Regions from separate parts of the Homo sapiens genome. Here regions 1 and 2 are each linked to region 3. The links are contacts of gene promoters, found by promoter capture Hi-C in blood cells and fetal thymus (Javierre and others, 2016). All regions are on one chromosome and are shown on one strand. The core of a region is centred on a gene start or on the middle of the fragment in contact, and the rest is flanking DNA. Distances in the headings are between cores, read along the strand shown. Region 1 overlaps CTNNB1 (catenin beta 1). Region 2 overlaps CTNNB1 (catenin beta 1). Region 3 holds the start of ZNF620 (zinc finger protein 620).

Region 1 (3,690 bases), core at 1,034-3,533, 700 kb after region 3:
GGTTTGTATTTATTTAGGCACTTGGGAAATGCCTTGTGTCAATTGATTATAGATTAGGAGCTTAAAAGCAAGATTTATATTATCAACTTATTTGTGAAGACTGGGAAACCCACATTTTTAAAGTTAGGAATTAAGATGGCCAGGTTCAAGGAAAAGGGGGAGAAGTAACTTTCTTATTACTCAACCATCTTAAATAGAGTTCTTTAAGTGTATTTTTAAGAGGTCTCAAAACTTAATCTGAAGGGACGTCAAATGCTGGACAAATTCTGTGTATACAACTCAAGTCAGCCCCCAATTTTACTGGTCTTTAAATCATGTCCTTTTTACCAGAAGTTTGCATTTCTAAGCTAAACTATTACTGTTAGACTAGATCCAAAACTTAAAAACAGTTTAGGTAATTAAAAATTAATTGAATATAAACGTTTTACTTAAATTAATGGCAAATGGCTTTTTGGCCAATTTAAGTTTATGTAGGCAGTTAAATCGATTTTGGTTAAATCTTTTGCTGCTAACAAGGTATTTCCAGATTTTGAAAAGTGGGGTGGCCTGGTGCCTGTAGTACCAGCACTTTGGGAGGCTGGGGAGGGTGGATCACCTGAGGTCAGGAGTTCGAGACTAGCCTGGCCGACGTGGTGAATACAAAAATTAGCCAGGCATGGTGGCAGGTGCCTGTGATCCCAGCTGCTTGGAAGTCTGAAGCATGAGAATTGCTTGAACCTGGGAAGCGGAGGTTGCAGTGAGCTGAGATCACGCCACTGCACTCCAGCTGGGGCAACAGAGCGAGACTCCATCTCAAGAAAGAAAAGTGGGGTGTTTAGTCTTCAAACTCCGTGTTTAAGTGACTGGAGTGAAAATGTAAATCATAGGCCGGTGTTGGTTTAAAAAGCATCATCTGAAAATAATGCTGTAGTCTGCAATTATTTTTATTACGATACGATGGTGTAAAATACAAGCAGATCAGTGAACCATTCATGAAACATTAATCCTAAAGGCGTCTCACCCCAAGTCTATCCCACAATCTCCATGAGACTTCGTGGAACCACTGTAAAGTTTCTTGTGTAATATCCCAGAAGTTTCCTACCTCTGGTATCTTTTGAACTTGTTGAAAAGGCTTTTCCACCCCCTCTTTATGATGGTTTGAAGAGTGTGAACATCTGAATGATGCTGGGGTGAAACTGCTTCATAACACTTCCATTTTCTCCCCTATTTATTTCCATATTTTTATTTTTTCACTAATATCCCCACGGTTTTACTTCTGTTTTAGTAATTCACATGTTGCTGGACTAATTCTTTTTAACTGACTTGTAACAGATATGTTAAACCGTTTAAAACTTGGGGGGTATTTTTAACCTACTTTAAGTTAGTTCAAGTTAATCAGTCTACATGGCATATAAACCTTATGATTAATAAATCTTAAATGCTGGTAGCTGAGTTGGAAGCCAAAGACGTACAAAAAAGCTGAAGTGTTAGGTTTAGTGTGATAAGCTTCTCTTACTAACAGGGTTTTGTAATAGCAGAAATAGATATATGCATATATATGTGCATATATATAGCATACCTTATTGGATGTCCATATAAAAATGTGTAAGAAGTTAAATTTACTGCAAAATTTCTTGGGAGTGCAATTTGAAGATGATCTTAAGTGGTGATAGTAGTTTGCTACACTGGGGGATAGTTGTTGCAAACTGCTCCTAATTTTCCTTTACTGTGAAGTAAACTGAACAGCTGTAATAGGGATTAGGAACTGTACTCCCTCTCTCTCTTTTTTAAGTATAATTAAGTGGTTTTGGGGTAAGGGTGTAGGGAGTGAGTGTCTTTGAAGTTTTGCATATACTAGATGAATGCCACATGTATAAGGGAGGAACAAGGGATTCTTGGAAATATTTTTCAATCCAAGTAACTTTGGAGGCTTCCAAGTGGAGTTCATTCCCCTGTGTAGGAAAGTGCTGGGGTAGACCCTTAAATTCCTTTCTGAGCCATTGAAAGAATGTCCTCAAACTTCGCTTATACTTTATAGTTCATTTAGATACAAAAGTTACAAACTGAATGCTATTTAGGAAACGTAATACACTGACATACCGCTCTTTAAATAGATTATAAATTTAGTATATCAATTTTCTGGCATTTTGCTGAATTTTATTGTTTAGTTTTCAAGCCCAACTATCTTGTTACTTTGTATATCGTAGTTGTCCCCCGTTGATCACTGTTTCCTGCTTAATTGTGCTGTCGTTTTTCCTGGGTCCTGATTCAGAGTGTCAGCATTCTGTTCCCCATAGAATAAGAAGAGGCTAGAAAGTTTACAGATGAGATATCTAGGAATGCCAGAAGATCAGGGGTCACCGTTGAGGCAGAGTAATTAATTATGGTTAAAATGGTGTTGCTGATAAGTGGGTGCTGGGAAATAATTAAAATTTGATTTTTTAGAAGAATACTTCTCATGCTTGAAGAGCGCCCTCATTATATGCTAAAGGGCCTCAGGTTTTTCCTTATTGCCATTATGCTGCAGATTCTATTACATTTGTCTGAAAAGATCTAAGACAGAAGGGCTGTTTAATACCTTCCCTTTTCTCCTGAACTTCCCCTCTCCTCTCCCCCATCAGGAGCTAAGTAGGAACCCCTTCACCTTGTTACCATCAGATTTCATCAATGGTCTGTCTTTACAATGAAGGAAGTAGTACTGCATTCTGGGCAGAGGCCAGTCCTGAGGCATGCCTTTTCAAGGACATTGTTACTTTAGTTACACTGGCTCTTCTGTTTTAACTCTTATCCCCCAGACTCTAATCCTGTTGCTTTTTTTGGTCCCCATCTCCCACCTTTCATCATCTGAAATCCATTCATTGTAACTTCTGGAACTCAGTCGTTAGAAAATCCTTTATATTCTCAATCTTGTGAATGTTCCTTTCTTTCTTATTCCAGCTGTAACCTAGCCTTCTCCCCAAGAATGCTACTTCCCTTGCAGCTCTCTCAAGTGGTGAATTTTTCCCTTCTTGCACACCTTATAACACTGAACTAGGAGGTGTGTGGACTAAATGTCTGCTTTTGTTCCTTATTGTCACTTCTTGACCTTTATTTTCCAAAACTTCAAGCTTTGACTTTCATGTGATCAAATTATACCACCCACTGCCTGTCTTTATTTCAAGCACCTGCAAACCTTCCTGGGTCATTCACATCCTTCTTTGTTCACTTCATTAGCTCTTGGCTCATTGTCACTGTCTCTTATTTCTGTCATAATTCTTGGTGACATCAGTATCTATGTAGAGCAATACTAGTGAAGATGTGGTCTGGTAACTGTTACCTGTATGAATTAAGATAAGGAGTTATGCCAGAATATAAGTCACCTGTGTCACTAAGTTTACTGTTTAGCTTACTTTTTTTGTAGCAAGATTTTGATGAAGGACGCAATATGTTGATTTACAGTCTGGTACAAATTTTGATGTAGAAGATGCTTCCAATATCCTGGTCTCTTAGTTCCTTGATTTCTTCTCCAGTGATCTTATTTTCTACCCTAACTCAACTACATATTCCCATTGTCATATCCTAGAATATTTTGTCTTTTATCTGTAACTCTGCTCTCTTCCCCCAATCTCATTTCAAGCATCCCACTTTCTAATTCCTCTAGTAAATACGTCAGTTCCAACAGCCCATCAATCCCATTGGGACCTACAGTTTATCTATCCAAGCTTTTCCCTG
Region 2 (3,768 bases), core at 1,259-3,758, 740 kb after region 3:
CAGATCTGGGGCATGCCCAGGACCTCATGGATGGGCTGCCTCCAGGTGACAGCAATCAGCTGGCCTGGTTTGATACTGACCTGTAAATCATCCTTTAGGTAAGAAGTTTTAAAAAGCCAGTTTGGGTAAAATACTTTTACTCTGCCTACAGAACTTCAGAAAGACTTGGTTGGTAGGGTGGGAGTGGTTTAGGCTATTTGTAAATCTGCCACAAAAACAGGTATATACTTTGAAAGGAGATGTCTTGGAACATTGGAATGTTCTCAGATTTCTGGTTGTTATGTGATCATGTGTGGAAGTTATTAACTTTAATGTTTTTTGCCACAGCTTTTGCAACTTAATACTCAAATGAGTAACATTTGCTGTTTTAAACATTAATAGCAGCCTTTCTCTCTTTATACAGCTGTATTGTCTGAACTTGCATTGTGATTGGCCTGTAGAGTTGCTGAGAGGGCTCGAGGGGTGGGCTGGTATCTCAGAAAGTGCCTGACACACTAACCAAGCTGAGTTTCCTATGGGAACAATTGAAGTAAACTTTTTGTTCTGGTCCTTTTTGGTCGAGGAGTAACAATACAAATGGATTTTGGGAGTGACTCAAGAAGTGAAGAATGCACAAGAATGGATCACAAGATGGAATTTATCAAACCCTAGCCTTGCTTGTTAAATTTTTTTTTTTTTTTTTTTAAGAATATCTGTAATGGTACTGACTTTGCTTGCTTTGAAGTAGCTCTTTTTTTTTTTTTTTTTTTTTTTTTGCAGTAACTGTTTTTTAAGTCTCTCGTAGTGTTAAGTTATAGTGAATACTGCTACAGCAATTTCTAATTTTTAAGAATTGAGTAATGGTGTAGAACACTAATTCATAATCACTCTAATTAATTGTAATCTGAATAAAGTGTAACAATTGTGTAGCCTTTTTGTATAAAATAGACAAATAGAAAATGGTCCAATTAGTTTCCTTTTTAATATGCTTAAAATAAGCAGGTGGATCTATTTCATGTTTTTGATCAAAAACTATTTGGGATATGTATGGGTAGGGTAAATCAGTAAGAGGTGTTATTTGGAACCTTGTTTTGGACAGTTTACCAGTTGCCTTTTATCCCAAAGTTGTTGTAACCTGCTGTGATACGATGCTTCAAGAGAAAATGCGGTTATAAAAAATGGTTCAGAATTAAACTTTTAATTCATTCGATTGTGTCACTCTTTCTTTTTTTCTTGTCATTAATAAATGGTTTGTGAGGGTGGTAAGTAAGTTTATCCAACTCAACTTTATCCTGAACTTTATCCTGAGATAGATAGATACATAGTGAAGTAATTTGTTGTAGCGATAGAGAGGGCCCTACTTCTCTAGATGCAATTTGCCAAGTTTCTTTAGCATTTGGCCCTGGATTACGCTGGACCCCTAAAAAAGTGTTTCAGCCTTGCACATTGTGATTAGTTCTGGGCTTTGGTGGGAGAAAGCCAAGCAGACTATCCATCTATCTATCTCTACCCCAATCCCCCTCAGATGATTTGATTCCATTAAAGTAATGAAATAAATAGTAACTACCCCTACCTGGATTTGGATTTGAATCACCTTCACCCAAGTGTGACTCATTGGGAGAGGGGAATTCCTTCAACTGGACTTTGAACTAATAATAATTAAATAAATTAAATAGGTTTAAGTGTTGATGTTTATCTGAACATAATCAGAACCAGAATGAGCCTTCCACAGTACCTGCCAGATGATCCTATCATCCCGGTGGTAGGTCTGACAAGCTTAGTTCATCTCATCTCTTCAGGTAGACCTGTTTGTTAAGACTTGTGTTTTGGTCTTTTAAAAAGTAAAAGAAAGAAGTGTTTTGTCTTTAGGGAGAGCTCTTTCTGATTTACTGTTTTTATTTTGATGATGATTGATAGTGACTATTAATTATGAGAAAAACATACATTCAGTTCTTTTTCGTTAAAAATCAGCTTCATCTGGGGAGGCCTTTTTGTGAATGCCCTTGCTTTGCAAAAATGAATTCATTGTGGTCTAAAATGTAATTAGGGTTTGAAAAGAAACATTCACATAGCTGATGATGTGGTAGGTCTCAGGTTCTGTCTCATGTGTGATAAACCAAACCAGCCAGTATTTCAAGAAGCCTAGGGCTATTGGTAGGTTAACACCGTGAAGATCTTCAGTGAATTCAGCTTTTAACATAAAGAGCCACCGCACGGTGTTTCAATTACAGAAAGAACAACTTTTTAAAACCAGAGAATGTTTTCAGAGCTTTGCTAATTCATTGTATTTTATTTTTGAAGTTTAAAAACTTAATGTGAGAGTTAATCCAGTTCAACAAGGTGGCTCTGGAAGTACCAAGGGTGAATAATAGCCAAGACGCTTAGGAAAAATAGCACTTGCTCTAGCAGCTGTCAAGGCCTAACTACTTAATACAAAGCTAAAGTTAGTTAACCCTGTTACAGGAATAGGGATATAAATACAGATTAATACAGAATAATACACAGGCATTTAAAGACTCTTCAGAGACAGCGTTGGAGATCCGAGTGGGAGGAGAGCAACTTTTTCATAAAGGTGTGAAACAGCCGTTGGAATAAAACAATACAGAAAAACATCCATGACCCAACAAAATATCAAGATTTTAAATAAAGGCAGTAGTACTGATTTTTCTTTTGCCTCAAGCGCCAGTAAGGCTTGGTAGGGCACAACGCTGACAGTCTACACTGGACGCCCATGTGTCCAACAATCTCTGTTCACACGAGACAGTGCAGTGAAAAACTACAGCTTCAGTGATGTGGGTGTCAGTATAGTATGCATATATCTATCTCACATAACACTGAACAAAAGCAAGTTACAGATGCATGCTTTAGAACTCCATTGATCATCAATTAAAAAAAGGGACAAGCTATTTTAAGGAAAATATCCACAGATGGAGCAAGGAGATGATTAGATGACTATAGAAATCAGAATAATGGTTAACCTGGAGAGGGAGGTGCATGGGATGCTGGCAAGGTACCTAACCTTTCCTGTAAATAGTGGTGAAGAAAGTGAGGTCAAGTTTTCAATAAGAGAAGTAGTGGTGGGGAGGAAAAGGCCTAAAAGGAATGCTGCCCACTTGCATTTCCGGGTACAGGAGGTGAAAATGACAAAATGAACATGGCCGTTGAGAATAGGAGGGCTTTCCAGCCTGAGTGTTCTTTTTTCAGTTGTGCTGTAGTTATGAGACAGCCTTGAGAGTTAAGACATTTGATCCCATTGCAGCAACCACCATTGAACCAAAGAAGGAAGCTTTTCTATGTTGGAGCAGATCTTACAGACATGAGGCTTTGAAATCTGATGATCTGAATCCTTAATAATGAAAGATCTTAAGATAAACACACTCTTTAACTCTTGGTTGCTATAATAAAAAGATGTGAATTGTGCTGTTTTGTTTATAAAGCAAAAATGCTAAGTTGATCTGCAGTTCTATTAAGTGAGAACCTGCCTTTCCTTGCCTTGAGCAGATCACCCACCAAAGTGAAATTATGAAATGATGGGGCTGCAGGGGCTGTCAGGGCAGTTCTTCCTTTTTCTTTTATCGCAGCCTCCTATGTGGAATTCTGTATAATATCCATTCCACCACTTGAGACTCCAGTAAACGTAGAAGGAAGTGACAAGTTTCAGAGTTGAGGTTGTGGGGGAAGGTCAGAACAGGTATAGGGGTATGCAGGAAGGCAAAGGAGAAACCCCATCTCTATGTATTTCCAAAGTAGGTTTTGGCATGAATAGGGAAAGGTCCGTGTGTCCATAAA
Region 3 (3,859 bases), core at 595-3,094:
GGTGAAGTATCTGTTCAAATCTTTTGCCTATTTTTAAAAATTGGTTTATTTTCTTATGAGTGAGTTTTGAGAGTCCTTTATATATTTTGGAAACAAGTCTTTTATCAAATATTTTTGGTATTTTCTCCCAGTCTGTGGCTTGTCTTTTCATTCTCTAAAAGTATCTTCTGAAAAGCAGAAGATTTAACTTTGATTAAGTCCAATTTATCATGTTTTTTTCCACTGGCTAATACTGTTTAGAATTTGTGGTGTATATGTATGTACGTTTATGTGCACCCACTCATGGTAAATGTTCATTTTAATAGGTTTAGCGAAGGGACAGTATGCACATGTATGTCCTTGTCATGCCATTGTTTCTGGAAATCTAATTATTTAAAACAAGTGCTGTGCATAAACTTTAAAGTGAAAATACTATAGATTTTATAAAATGAACTGTTTCTGTGACAGTTAAAATCTCTGTGCTAGGTGGCCCCACAATGGCTCCCAATGGTTCTCATATCCTGGCATTCAAACCTTGTGTATCTCTTCCCACACTGAATCATGACTAATCTGAGGAGAATGTATTGAGGAAATCATGATGCATGATTTCCAAAACTAGGTCATAAAAGCTTTGGCCTTGGCCTCTTGGATTGCTCACTTTGGGAGAAAGCTACATGCCATGTTGTGAAAACCCTCACATGGGAAGGAACTGACGCTTCCTGCCAACAACCAGCACCCACTTGACAGCCATGTGAGTAAACCACCTTGGAGGTGGATCCTCCAAACTCAGTCAAGCTTCAGATGACTTCAGCCCCACATGACACCTGACTGCAACCTCAGCAGAGACCCTCAGCCAGTACCACCCAGCCAAGCTGCTCTTGAATTCTGGGTCCACAGAAACTGTCAAAAGATAACAATGTTTATTGTTTTTAGCCACAAAGCATTAGAGTAGTTTATTATCCAGCAGTAGATACATAATATACTCTCCATGGCAGGACTTGTTTTGAAAGTGGTGGATAAATCTAATTCCTGTGGAAGGAATAACTAAAATCTGTTTCCAGGCTGGGCCGGGACACACATCCCAGTACAGGGCAGGAAAGGGCTCTAAGCCAAATGTTAATAGCTCTTTCGCTAAACTTCGAAAATTGTCCTTAAAAAAATCTATTTCCCTAAAGCACGCCACATATTGGAGTCCCAGCAGCACCTATTTTGTGTCTTCAAAAAACACAATTGGAAAACAAAACAATACAAACTCACGAGTACATACTATGTGCCAGGCACAACTGTAAATAATTTACCTATCAATTAACTAATTTAATGAATTAACCCTGAACAGCCTCAAGAGGTTGGTACCACCATCATAATACCCATTTAATAGACAAGGAAACCGGGGCAAAGAAACTTGCTGCAGGTCACACAACTAGCAAGTGGTGCAGCTGGGTTTCTGGACCTACGTAGTCCATACACATTCGGCCTTCTGAGTAATGGGTTCGCCTTTCCCCACACCCACTTTTCCCACTGCAGCGCACCCACACAATCCAGACAGTTTTGGCGCATGTGAAGGGCGCGATGGTCCCTTCATTATCTGGAAGGACACCCAGAGTGGCAAATGCCAGATAACCACGAATAATACCCAGGATAGTAACCATTCTGTGGCCTGAGCTGGCCAGACGTCATGCCCCGAAGGAGCTACCAGGTGTGGGCGCTGCAGGACCCCTGCCTGGGGCCGCCCGCTCGGGCCCGTGTTGTCTCAGGCAGTAGGGACACTGGCGCTGACGGCGGGGGTAGGAAACCACAGAGACTGGCAACTTCCCAGGTTCCTAGAGAGGAGGGGCATGGAAAACGCACTTCCGGCGGAGGGTCTCAAGCTTTCCCCGGTGTCGGCGGCAGGTGGAATTTCCACGCTTTATCTGCGCCTGCGCCGCGCGGGATTCGCGGTCCGAGCTGAAGAGGTTCGCGGTCCGGGTAACTGATTGGTTTTCCTGGGGCTTGTTCTGCCTGGTTTTGCAACCCCTTTGCTTTTTGGGGTGAGGAGTTGGCGGAAAGGAGAGGGGCCCAAGTAGCACAGAGGGCATTTGCGGGGTGCGAGGCAGCATCAATCTCACCGGTGCTTCTTTATTTTCTCTTCAGTTTCACTTCTCCGAACCCTGAGGCAGTGTGTGAAGCTGGGACGCCAGCCATGTTCCAGACCGCTTGGCGCCAGGTGAGTGAGCATCCTCTCCCTCCCTCCCACCCTTTAGATGTCAAGAGAGAGCAGGTGTCACCTCTGCATTCAGATCTTGAGTTGTGTAGGCCAGTGGCTTCCATTGTGCATCTGTCACTATGAGAGGGATGGAGAGGTGAGAATGCCCAAATTAAGACTAGAAAACTAGTGAGTGTGGGGGGATTGGTTGGGATTTGGCATTTGAAGCCAGCTTAAAAATAAAAATTATGAAATGTGGAAATCTGCATTATTACATCCAATAAAGACCCCTTTCACCCTAGTCCGCAGGCTTGGAGAAGTACTTACTTCTTCAGTATAGCAATTCTAGTAACTGTTTTGTAGATTCCATTGTATTTTCTACATAGGTCATCTATGAGTAAAGATAGTTTTACTCCTTTCTTTCCAGTCTGGATGCCTTTTATTTTATTTTGTCTTGCCTTACTGCACTGGCTAGAAGCATTATTTCAATATTGAACAGAAGTGGTGAGAGCAGATATCTTTGTCTTATTTATGCTTTTAAAGTGAAAGCATTCAATCTTTCACACTGAAGACTGATGTTCACTGTAGGTTTCTTGCTTTTTTGTTTTGTTTTGTTTTGTAAATGTCCTTTATCAGGCATTCTCTTCTAGTACTACTTTGGTGAGAGTTTTTATAGGAATGGATGTTGGATTTTGACAATTGCTTTTTCTGTGTCTATTTAGATGACCATATGGTTTTTTTTTTTTTTTTTTTTTGAGATGGAGTCTTGCTCTATCGACAGGCTGGAGTGCAGTGGCGCGATCCTGGTTCACTGCACCCTCCACCTCTGGGGTTCAAGCGATTCTCCTGCCTCAGCCTCCCGAGTAGCTGGGACTACAAGCACGCGCCACCACACCCAGCTAATTTTTGTATTTTTAGTAGAGACCAGGTTTCACCATGTTGGCCAGGATGGTCTCGATCCCTTGACCTCGTGATTCCCCCACCTTGGCTTCCCAAAGTGCTGGGATTACAGGCGTGAGCCACCGTGCCCAGCCTCTCTTTGTTAATGTGGTGAATTACATGATTTTTCTTTCAAATATTAAACCAACTCTGCGGTGGGATAAAACCGACTTCGTCATGGTGTATTATTATTTTATTAGTACTATATATTGAATTTAATTTGTTAAAATTTTATTTAGAATTTCTGTATCTATGTTTATGAGGTATTGATTTGCAGTTTTCTTTTCTTGTGATGTCTTTGTTCCATAGAATGAGAAATATTCCCTCCTCTTTAATATTTTGGAAGAATTTATGTAGAGTTGACTGCATTTCTTCCTTAAATGTTTGGTAGAATTCAACAGTGAAGCTATCTAGGCATGGGGTTTTCTTTCTGATAAGGTTTTTAAGTACAGTTTTGAGTCCTTTGGTAGATACAGGGGCTACTCTGGTTATCTCTTTTTATTTATTTATTTTTATTTTTTGACAACGGTTTTCTCTATGTTGCCCAGGCTGACCTCAAATTGGGCTCAAGCAATCCTCCCCGCTCAGCCTCCCAGGTACCTGGGACTACAGGCATGCATCACTACGCCCAGCTTAAATGAGTTTTGGTAACTTGTGCCTTTCAAGGAACTTATCCATTTTATCTAAGTTGTAGAAATTATTCACATAAAGTTGTTCATAATATGTGCTTATCTTTTATTACCTGCAGTGATGTCACTT

The links. The method cuts DNA at HindIII sites, captures the fragments that hold promoters and counts their contacts. A CHiCAGO score of 5 or more calls a contact.
Region 1: a contact is called between a fragment that was not itself captured here and the fragment with the promoter of ZNF620 in region 3, in 3 of 17 cell types (naive B cells, total B cells and naive CD8 T cells). The highest score is 6.2, in naive B cells.
Region 2: a fragment that was not itself captured here is called in contact with the fragment with the promoter of ZNF620 in region 3 in 1 of 17 cell types (M0 macrophages); the score reaches 6.0 in M0 macrophages.

What each region holds. Positions count from the first base shown.
Region 1 is chr3:41,204,882-41,208,571 of GRCh38, forward strand. The region is part of intron 1 of CTNNB1 (catenin beta 1); the gene reads left to right. Among named protein-coding and RNA genes, the nearest start is that of CTNNB1, 7.2 kb to the left of the region's middle. The HindIII fragment of the contact is 1,601 bases long and covers 1,484-3,084 here.
Region 2 is chr3:41,239,257-41,243,024 of GRCh38, forward strand. CTNNB1 (catenin beta 1) reads left to right here. Exons shown (of 15, transcript NM_001904.4): 15 at 1-1,187. The coding sequence ends at 86. Among named protein-coding and RNA genes, the nearest start is that of CTNNB1, 42 kb to the left of the region's middle. The HindIII fragment of the contact is 1,510 bases long and covers 1,754-3,263 here.
Region 3 is chr3:40,504,195-40,508,053 of GRCh38, forward strand. It overlaps ZNF620 (zinc finger protein 620), which reads left to right and starts at 1,845. Exons shown (of 5, transcript NM_175888.4): 1 at 1,845-1,944; 2 at 2,110-2,182. The coding sequence starts at 2,159. The HindIII fragment of the contact is 1,073 bases long and covers 773-1,845 here.